Linked DNA regions of Homo sapiens: region 1 is linked to region 2. The links are contacts of gene promoters, found by promoter capture Hi-C in human tissues and cell types (Jung and others, 2019). All regions are on one chromosome and are shown on one strand. Each heading gives the region's core, a stretch centred on a gene start or on the middle of the fragment in contact. The rest is flanking DNA. Distances are from core to core; before and after follow the strand shown. Region 1 overlaps MXRA7 (matrix remodeling associated 7). Region 2 holds the start of CDK3 (cyclin dependent kinase 3).

Region 1 (3,265 bases), core at 42-2,541, 710 kb before region 2:
TCGCTCAGGAGCGTCCCCTAGTGCACGGTGCCCTCTTTGGCCAAGGACAAAGTAGTGGGGAGGGGCTACTATAGGCCGAGACCCTGGAAATGGACCAAAGAAATGGGGATGAGATCAGTGCAGCTCTTGCTTCCCCAGGGCAGCACAGGCCAGGGCAGGGAGGCTGAGGAGAAGCGGAATGATACTGCTAGAACCTCTTTTCTCTCCTAAGGATTAGCACAGGGTGGGCTGTGAGGAAGCATTATAGGCAAGGCCTGTTCACGCAAAGAATCATGAGCCAACGAAGTCAAGAACAGGAGCCGGCCTCTTTTCAGGCCAGGACTCAGGGCTTTCTTGGTGCTCCTGTGTAGGTTGGGGTTTTAGGATTGCCAGGCCTCTTACCTAATGGACTTGTGGATTGGAGCAAGGCTGGATGGTCGGATTCCCAAACATTGGTAATTGGCAAAGCGTCAAGGGTCATTTGAATAGCACTAGAGTTAAATTTCTTGTCTGTGCCAGGACTCAAGTATCTCGGTACTTGGGGCCTAGCTCTGCTCATAGACAGACTAGAGCCCGGGCGCGATGGCTCACACCTGTAATCCCAGCACTTTGGGAGGCCGAGGCAGGAGGATCACCTGAGGTCAGGAGTTCGAGACCAACCTGGCCAACATGGCGAAACCCCGTCTCTACTAAAAATACAGAAATTAGCCAGGCATGGTGGCGTGCACGTCATCCCATCTACTCAGGAAACTGAGGCAGGAGAATCACTTGAACCCAGGAGGCTGAGGTTGCAGTTGAGCCAAGATCGTGCCACTGCACTTCAGCCTGGGCAACAGAACGAGACTCCATCTCAAAAAAAAAAAAAAAAAAAAAAAAAAAAAAAGAGTAGGGACTTCCTGCAAGGCAGTGGGCCGGTGTCATGAAGCACACAGAGACTCTTCTAGATTTAATTGGGATTTAGGAGATTAAAGCAATATGACAAATAAATACAATCTTGATCCTTGATTGGATTCTCCATCAGAGAAGGGAGCTATAAAGGACATACTGGAGATAATTGAGACATTTTTTAAATGAATGGCTGTGTTAGGTAAGCTTATTGAATCAACGCTGAATTTTTTGTGTACGATACCGGCAGATGGCTGTGTAAACAATGTCCTTATCCTTAGGAAGATGCAGGCTGAAACATTTTGGGATGACATGTCATGATTCAAATAGTTACATGCACACACACACACAGTGTGTGTGTGTATAGAGAGAGAATGCAAAGATGGCAAAATGTTAACCATTGGTGAATCTAGGTGAAGGGTGTATGGTATTCATTGTATTATTATTTCAACTTTTCTGTAGGTTTGGAATTTTTCAAAAGAGAATGTTGGAACAAAGAAGCCAACATTCTTCTTTGGGAAATTTCTTGGGAAAGGGGTTGGTTTTTCAGACACTCTGGAGGTGGTGGTCTGAGTGGGTAGCACAGCCTTCATCTGTCTGTCTTAACCATGTGACTTGGCCCTGGTTCCCCTGAAGTCACCCTGCTGTCAGGTCCACCTGTGTCCTCTGCCCTCACCAACCTGTTCACCATAGGTGTGGGCTCTGGAAGCTACAGAGACCCCAGCCTTCCCAGAATGACCCAGGAGCAGGTGAACTTCCCCATCATCTCTCCTGCCTTTGTGATGGCAGTGTGGTCCTTTTTGATGGCAGTGTGGTCCTTTTTGATGGCAGTGTGGTCCTTTTTGATGGCAGTGTGGTCCTTTGTGATGGCAGTGTGGGCCTCTGTGACGGCAGCGTGGGCCTCTGTGACGGCAGCGTGGGCCTCTGTGATGGCAGAGTGGGCCTCTGTGATGGCAGCGTGGTCCTTTGTGATGGCAGCGTGGGCCTCTGTGACGGCAGCGTGGGCCTCTGTGACGGCAGCGTGGGCCTCTGTGATGGCAGAGTGGGCCTCTGTGACGGCAGAGTGGGCCTTTGTGATGGCAGCGTGGGCCTCTGTGATGGCAGCGTGGGCCTCTGTGACGGCAGCGTGGGCCTCTGTGACGGCAGTGTGGTCCTTTGTGATGGCAGCGTGGGCCTTTGTGATGGCAGCGTGGGCCTTTGTGATGGCAGTGTGGTCCTCTGTGATGGCAGTGTGGTCCTTTGTGATAGCAGAGTGGGCCTTCGTGATGGCAGTGTGGTCCTCTGTGATGGCAGTGTGGGCCTTTGTGATGGCAGTGTGGTCCTACTTTCTGTTCTCTTAGCAAAATCTCAGAAGCCAAGTAGTGGAGGGCCAAGTAGATATTTGCCAGTTGTTTATATCACTTTAGGTCCTTGTCTTTAAGCAGCTTAGGCTGATATATCAAAATACCACAGACTGGGTTGCTTAAACAACAGGCATTATTTCCTACACTTTTGGAGGCTGGGAAGTCCAAGATGGAGGTGTTGGCAGATTCTGGTTTTGGTGAGGGCTCTCTTTTTGGCCTGCAGACAGCCACCTTCTTGCTGTACTTTCACATGCCAGAGAGAGAGGGATGTCTCTTCCTCTTCTTATCAGGGCCCTCATAGCATTGTAGGGACTCCACCATCGTGACCTCGTCTAAATCTCACCTCCCAAAGACCCCCACCTCCAGATACCATCACACTGGGGGTTAAGACTTCAACAGATAGATTTGCAGGGGACACAAATATTTAGTCCAGAACAGGCCCAGTGACTTACTGGGGAAAAAACTAGAAATAATCCAAATGTTCATTAATTAGCACATTGGATTCATTAGCAAATTAGTATGAAATAAGTAAAAAGGTAGAACATAAAATATTGTATTCACAATAACTATAACGATATAGAGCAACTGAATAGAAGATGCCTTGGAGGGCTGTAAGTAGAGTTCCCTGTTCAGTAGTTCCAGTGGGTATTTTTTTGTAAAGTTGTTTGAGTGCCTAACTTAATTTTTTTCCATATATGAAAGAAGTCCAGGGGCTTTCCTAATAGATAAACTTTGTTCTTTCAGAGAGAAAGAGCCTTGGTTACAGACTAATGTCAGCTAGAATTTTCTGCTTAGCAAGAAGGAGTATGTTTTTAAAGAATATGTCTTGAGAAAAAAAGCCACCTAGCTTTGGAGAGCTAGAAATGAAATGGTGAGCATGCAGACAGTTTCCTTTTTGTAGCCCCGCTCTTTCCCACTCGGCTCAAACCACACTGTGGGAGGAGGGAGACCAGCTTGGGCCTCTGGTAAACCGTCTTCCAGAGAAATGCCAGATCCCTGATGGTTAGGAGTATTTCTGGAACAACCTGCGTTTGGCCACACTGGGCTTGCCACTGTTA
Region 2 (3,315 bases), core at 374-2,873:
GCTGAGTGCATGGGTGACACTCCTCCTGCTGCCCCTCTCTCCTCTTTGTCTCACAATACCTCATGGGTGTAGGTGCGCAGGGGCACCCCGAAGGCGCGAGCCAGGCCGAAGTCAGCCAGCTTGATGGCACCCAACTCATTGATGAGCAGGTTCTGGGGCTTCAGGTCTCGGTGGATGACCCGATGTGAGTGGCAGAAACTCACCCCCTGCAGCAGCTGGAAGAGGTAGCTCTGGAGAAACGAGCGCGAGGTGCAGCCAGCTGAGCGGAGGTGCTGCGTGGACAGGGATGGCAGGGATGGGGTGTCACCTCTCCTTCCCTGCCCTTCCTTCCCTACCTTGATGAGGTGCAGGGGGAGCTCTGAGCCTGGGGTGGAGTCCATGTACTTCTTCAGGTCCTGGCTGAGGAACTCAAACACCAGATAGAGCTTCCTCTCGTTGTGCACCACGTCCAGCAGTCTGACAGGGAGATGGCAGTCAGGATGCTACCTTCGCCATCCCAGCTTCCCCACCTCAATCCCCAACTCACCGGACGATGTTGGGGTGCTTCAGTTCCTTGAGCAGCGAGATCTCCCTGATGGCAGTGCTTGGGACCCCCTCCATCTCCCTGCAAGAAACAAGGGCACAGCCGTGGGCAGAGACTTGGGCCAAGAAGGGCACTTCCAGCCAGGGGGATCGGCTTCTCCTTAACCCCACAGAATGACCAGGGCCCCGGCAATGGAGACCTGTGCTCCTTGGCACGTCATCCACCAAACTCCACAGTCAGGGCCCCGGCAAAGGCTGGTCAGAAGGCAGTGAACTGGGGAGAGGACAGGTAAGGGCTGCTGGGCAGCACCCAGAGGAGTTAAACGTGGACTCCAGGAAAGAGGGAACGGATCAGGGAGCGCCCAGGTTGTGATGGCCCAGGGTGGGTAACTCAGGGGCCGTCCCAGCACTCACAAATCCAGTCTGATCTTCTTCAGGGCCACCAGCTGCCCTGTCTCCCTGTTCTTGGCCTTGTACACCACCCCATAGGTGCCCTCTCCGATCTTCTCTACCTTCTGGAACATATCCATGGCCACAGAGCTGCCTGGGAAACAGAAGGCACCGGGCAATTTGCACCCCACGCCCAGCGCTCCCGTTGCTCCTCCAGCTTCCATGTGGCGCCCTGCCCAGCCCAGCCCAGCCCAGACTGCCCAGCTCCCAAGGCCCACGGCCTAGCCACCCCAACCCCAGCTCATCCTGCCTGGGAACCTGGCTGGGGGTCGGAAACCGCCCCTCACCCAGCCCAGCCCGGACCCCAAGGGGGTCAGGGGGCCCCCTTCACCCAGCCCAGTTCAGCCAGGACCCCCAGGCTTCTCGCCCATGCCCGGCCTCGGAGGGCAGGGCCCACACTCTCCCACCCAGCCCCCTGCCCATCCCAGCCAGAACCCCCAGGAAGTCAGAGACCACCCCTCGCCCAGCCCAGCCCAACATGGACCCCCAGGCCTCTCACTTGTGCCGGGCCTTAGAGGGCAAGACCACCCTTTCCCACCTGGGTCACTGCCCAGCCCAGCCAGTCCCAGGCTCTGGGTACACATGGCGGCCAGGAAGGGCTGCCCAGGGGCCAGGGCCACTGGGGGCAGAGGTCAGGGGTCAGGAGGGTCTTAAAGCCACAGTCCTGTCTTAGGCTGCACGGTCAGGGCCCAGGGCCTCAGCCCGGCCCGTGTGACGACGCTCAGCCTCCTCTGAAGGCAGAGCCTGGCCAGGGGCAGACCCCTGCATCCTGGGCCCCCCACCCCAGCCCCTGGGCCCCTGGTGCCCTACCCTGAGGCCCCAGGCCCAGAATTCACCAGAAGCCCTGAGAGGCTGCAGCCCACAGCCTGGGTTGCAGCTCCCCCTCCTGGCCCCCGCCGGCGCTGCACCACGAGCACACTTCAAGAGCACGCCCCCTGGGCCTTTATTCACCAGGACCTTCTGGAACCCTCCATGGCCCCACACCAAGCACGGCCCCGGCGCCCAAGCTCGGCCACCTGCAGTCTCCTGGGGTGGGGCTGTCGGATTTATGGCATGCTTTCTGGGTTCTCATTGCTGAGCCAATCCCAAAGTAGGGGAAGGGGCTGGATTCATCACCCGCCCCTCGGCTTTCGAGCTCCAGACAAGGCCGTCGCTGGGGAGGCGTCTGTGCTCTCCCGGGCTCCTGCAGCTCCAGAGGGTTCGGGCTCTGAAGCAGGTGAGGGTGTTGCTAGGCTGCTGTTTCCTACTGGCTGCCGCCCCGCTCCTGCTTGTACAGTCTCTGCTCCCGGATGGCTTGTTCCAACAAGGGCAGGTTCATCCCCTCCACACAGGTCAGCACGCGCGCCTTCACCACGGAGCCTCTGTCTGCAAGACAAACACCAGGGCACGAACGGCGACTGAGCGGCGTGTCAACAACGTCCTCCAAGGTGCATTCCAGCTGTTCCCTCCACAGCTCAGTCCTGGGTTTTGGCAGCAAGTGATGTGGACAATAACAGCATATGGGGCAAAGGCAACTGAGTATTTGGGCCTAGAACCGTGGGCCTGTCATGCACAGTCGGCCCGTGTCTGGAACTTAGCAGGTGGTCAGAAAACCCCTCTGGACTGAGGGAAAGGCCCCCTTGGCACCTTGGGACACAATGTCATCAGGAACCGGGGAAAAGAGACACCCATATTTTAAAAATCCAAGAGACTGAGCTCCCGGTAAGTTTGGCTTTATAGGAGCAGGTCATCCCACCCTGGACGAGGGGGGCTTCTAGCAGATGCGGTGGTGACCTGATACATAATGGAAAGGTTTGCCACTATTCAGGTGGCACCAAACAGGAAAGACATCTCCGAGAGACTTTTTAAAAATTTTCTTTCTTTTGACAGGTGAACTGGCTCACACCTGTAATCTCAGCACTTTGGGAGGCCAAGGCATGTGGAACACTTGAGGTCAGGAGTTCAAGACCAGCCTGGCCAACATGATGAAACCCCATCTCTACTAAAAATACAAAAATTAGCCGCGTGTAGTGGTGCATGCCTGTAATCCCAGCTACTTGGAAGGCTGAGGCAGGAGAATTGCTTGAACCCAGGAGGTGGAGGTTGCAGTGAGCCAAGATCACGCCACTGCACTCCAGCCTGGGCAACAGAGCAAGACTCCACCTAAAAAAAAAAATTTTTTTTTTGAGACAGGGTGTTGCTCTGTCACTTGGGCTGGAATGCAGTGGCTCAATCATGGCTCAATGTAGCCTCCACCTCCCAGGCTCAGGTGATCATCTCAGCTTCCTGAGGAGCTGGGACTACAGGGACGCACCACCACACCCAGCTAATTTTTGTATTTCTTGTAGAGATGGGGTCTCGCCA

The links. The method cuts DNA at HindIII sites, captures the fragments that hold promoters and counts their contacts. A contact is called where the count stands out against the background at its distance.
Region 1: a contact is called between a fragment that was not itself captured here and the fragment with the promoter of CDK3 in region 2, in 1 of the 25 tissues and cell types used here (stomach).

What each region holds. Positions count from the first base shown.
Region 1 is chr17:76,704,889-76,708,153 of GRCh38, reverse strand. All of the region lies in intron 1 of MXRA7 (matrix remodeling associated 7), which reads left to right. Among named protein-coding and RNA genes, the nearest start is that of MXRA7, 4.4 kb to the left of the region's middle. The HindIII fragment of the contact is 4,690 bases long and covers 1-3,265 here.
Region 2 is chr17:75,999,163-76,002,477 of GRCh38, reverse strand. CDK3 (cyclin dependent kinase 3) reads right to left here and starts at 1,623. Exons shown (of 8, transcript NM_001258.4): 1 at 1,511-1,623; 2 at 937-1,066; 3 at 527-604; 4 at 336-456; 5 at 60-230. The coding sequence starts at 1,052. TEN1 (TEN1 subunit of CST complex) reads right to left here. Exons shown (of 4, transcript NM_001113324.3): 4 at 1,892-2,337. The coding sequence ends at 2,216. It overlaps TEN1-CDK3 (TEN1-CDK3 readthrough (NMD candidate)), which reads right to left. Exons shown (of 10, transcript NR_037709.1): 4 at 937-2,337; 5 at 527-604; 6 at 336-456; 7 at 60-230. It overlaps LOC124904061 (a long non-coding RNA gene), which reads left to right and starts at 1,918. Exons shown (of 2, transcript XR_007065911.1): 1 at 1,918-2,673; 2 at 2,842-3,315. RefSeq lists a silencer at 1,737-1,816 and an enhancer at 1,947-1,996. The HindIII fragment of the contact is 30,775 bases long and covers 1-3,315 here.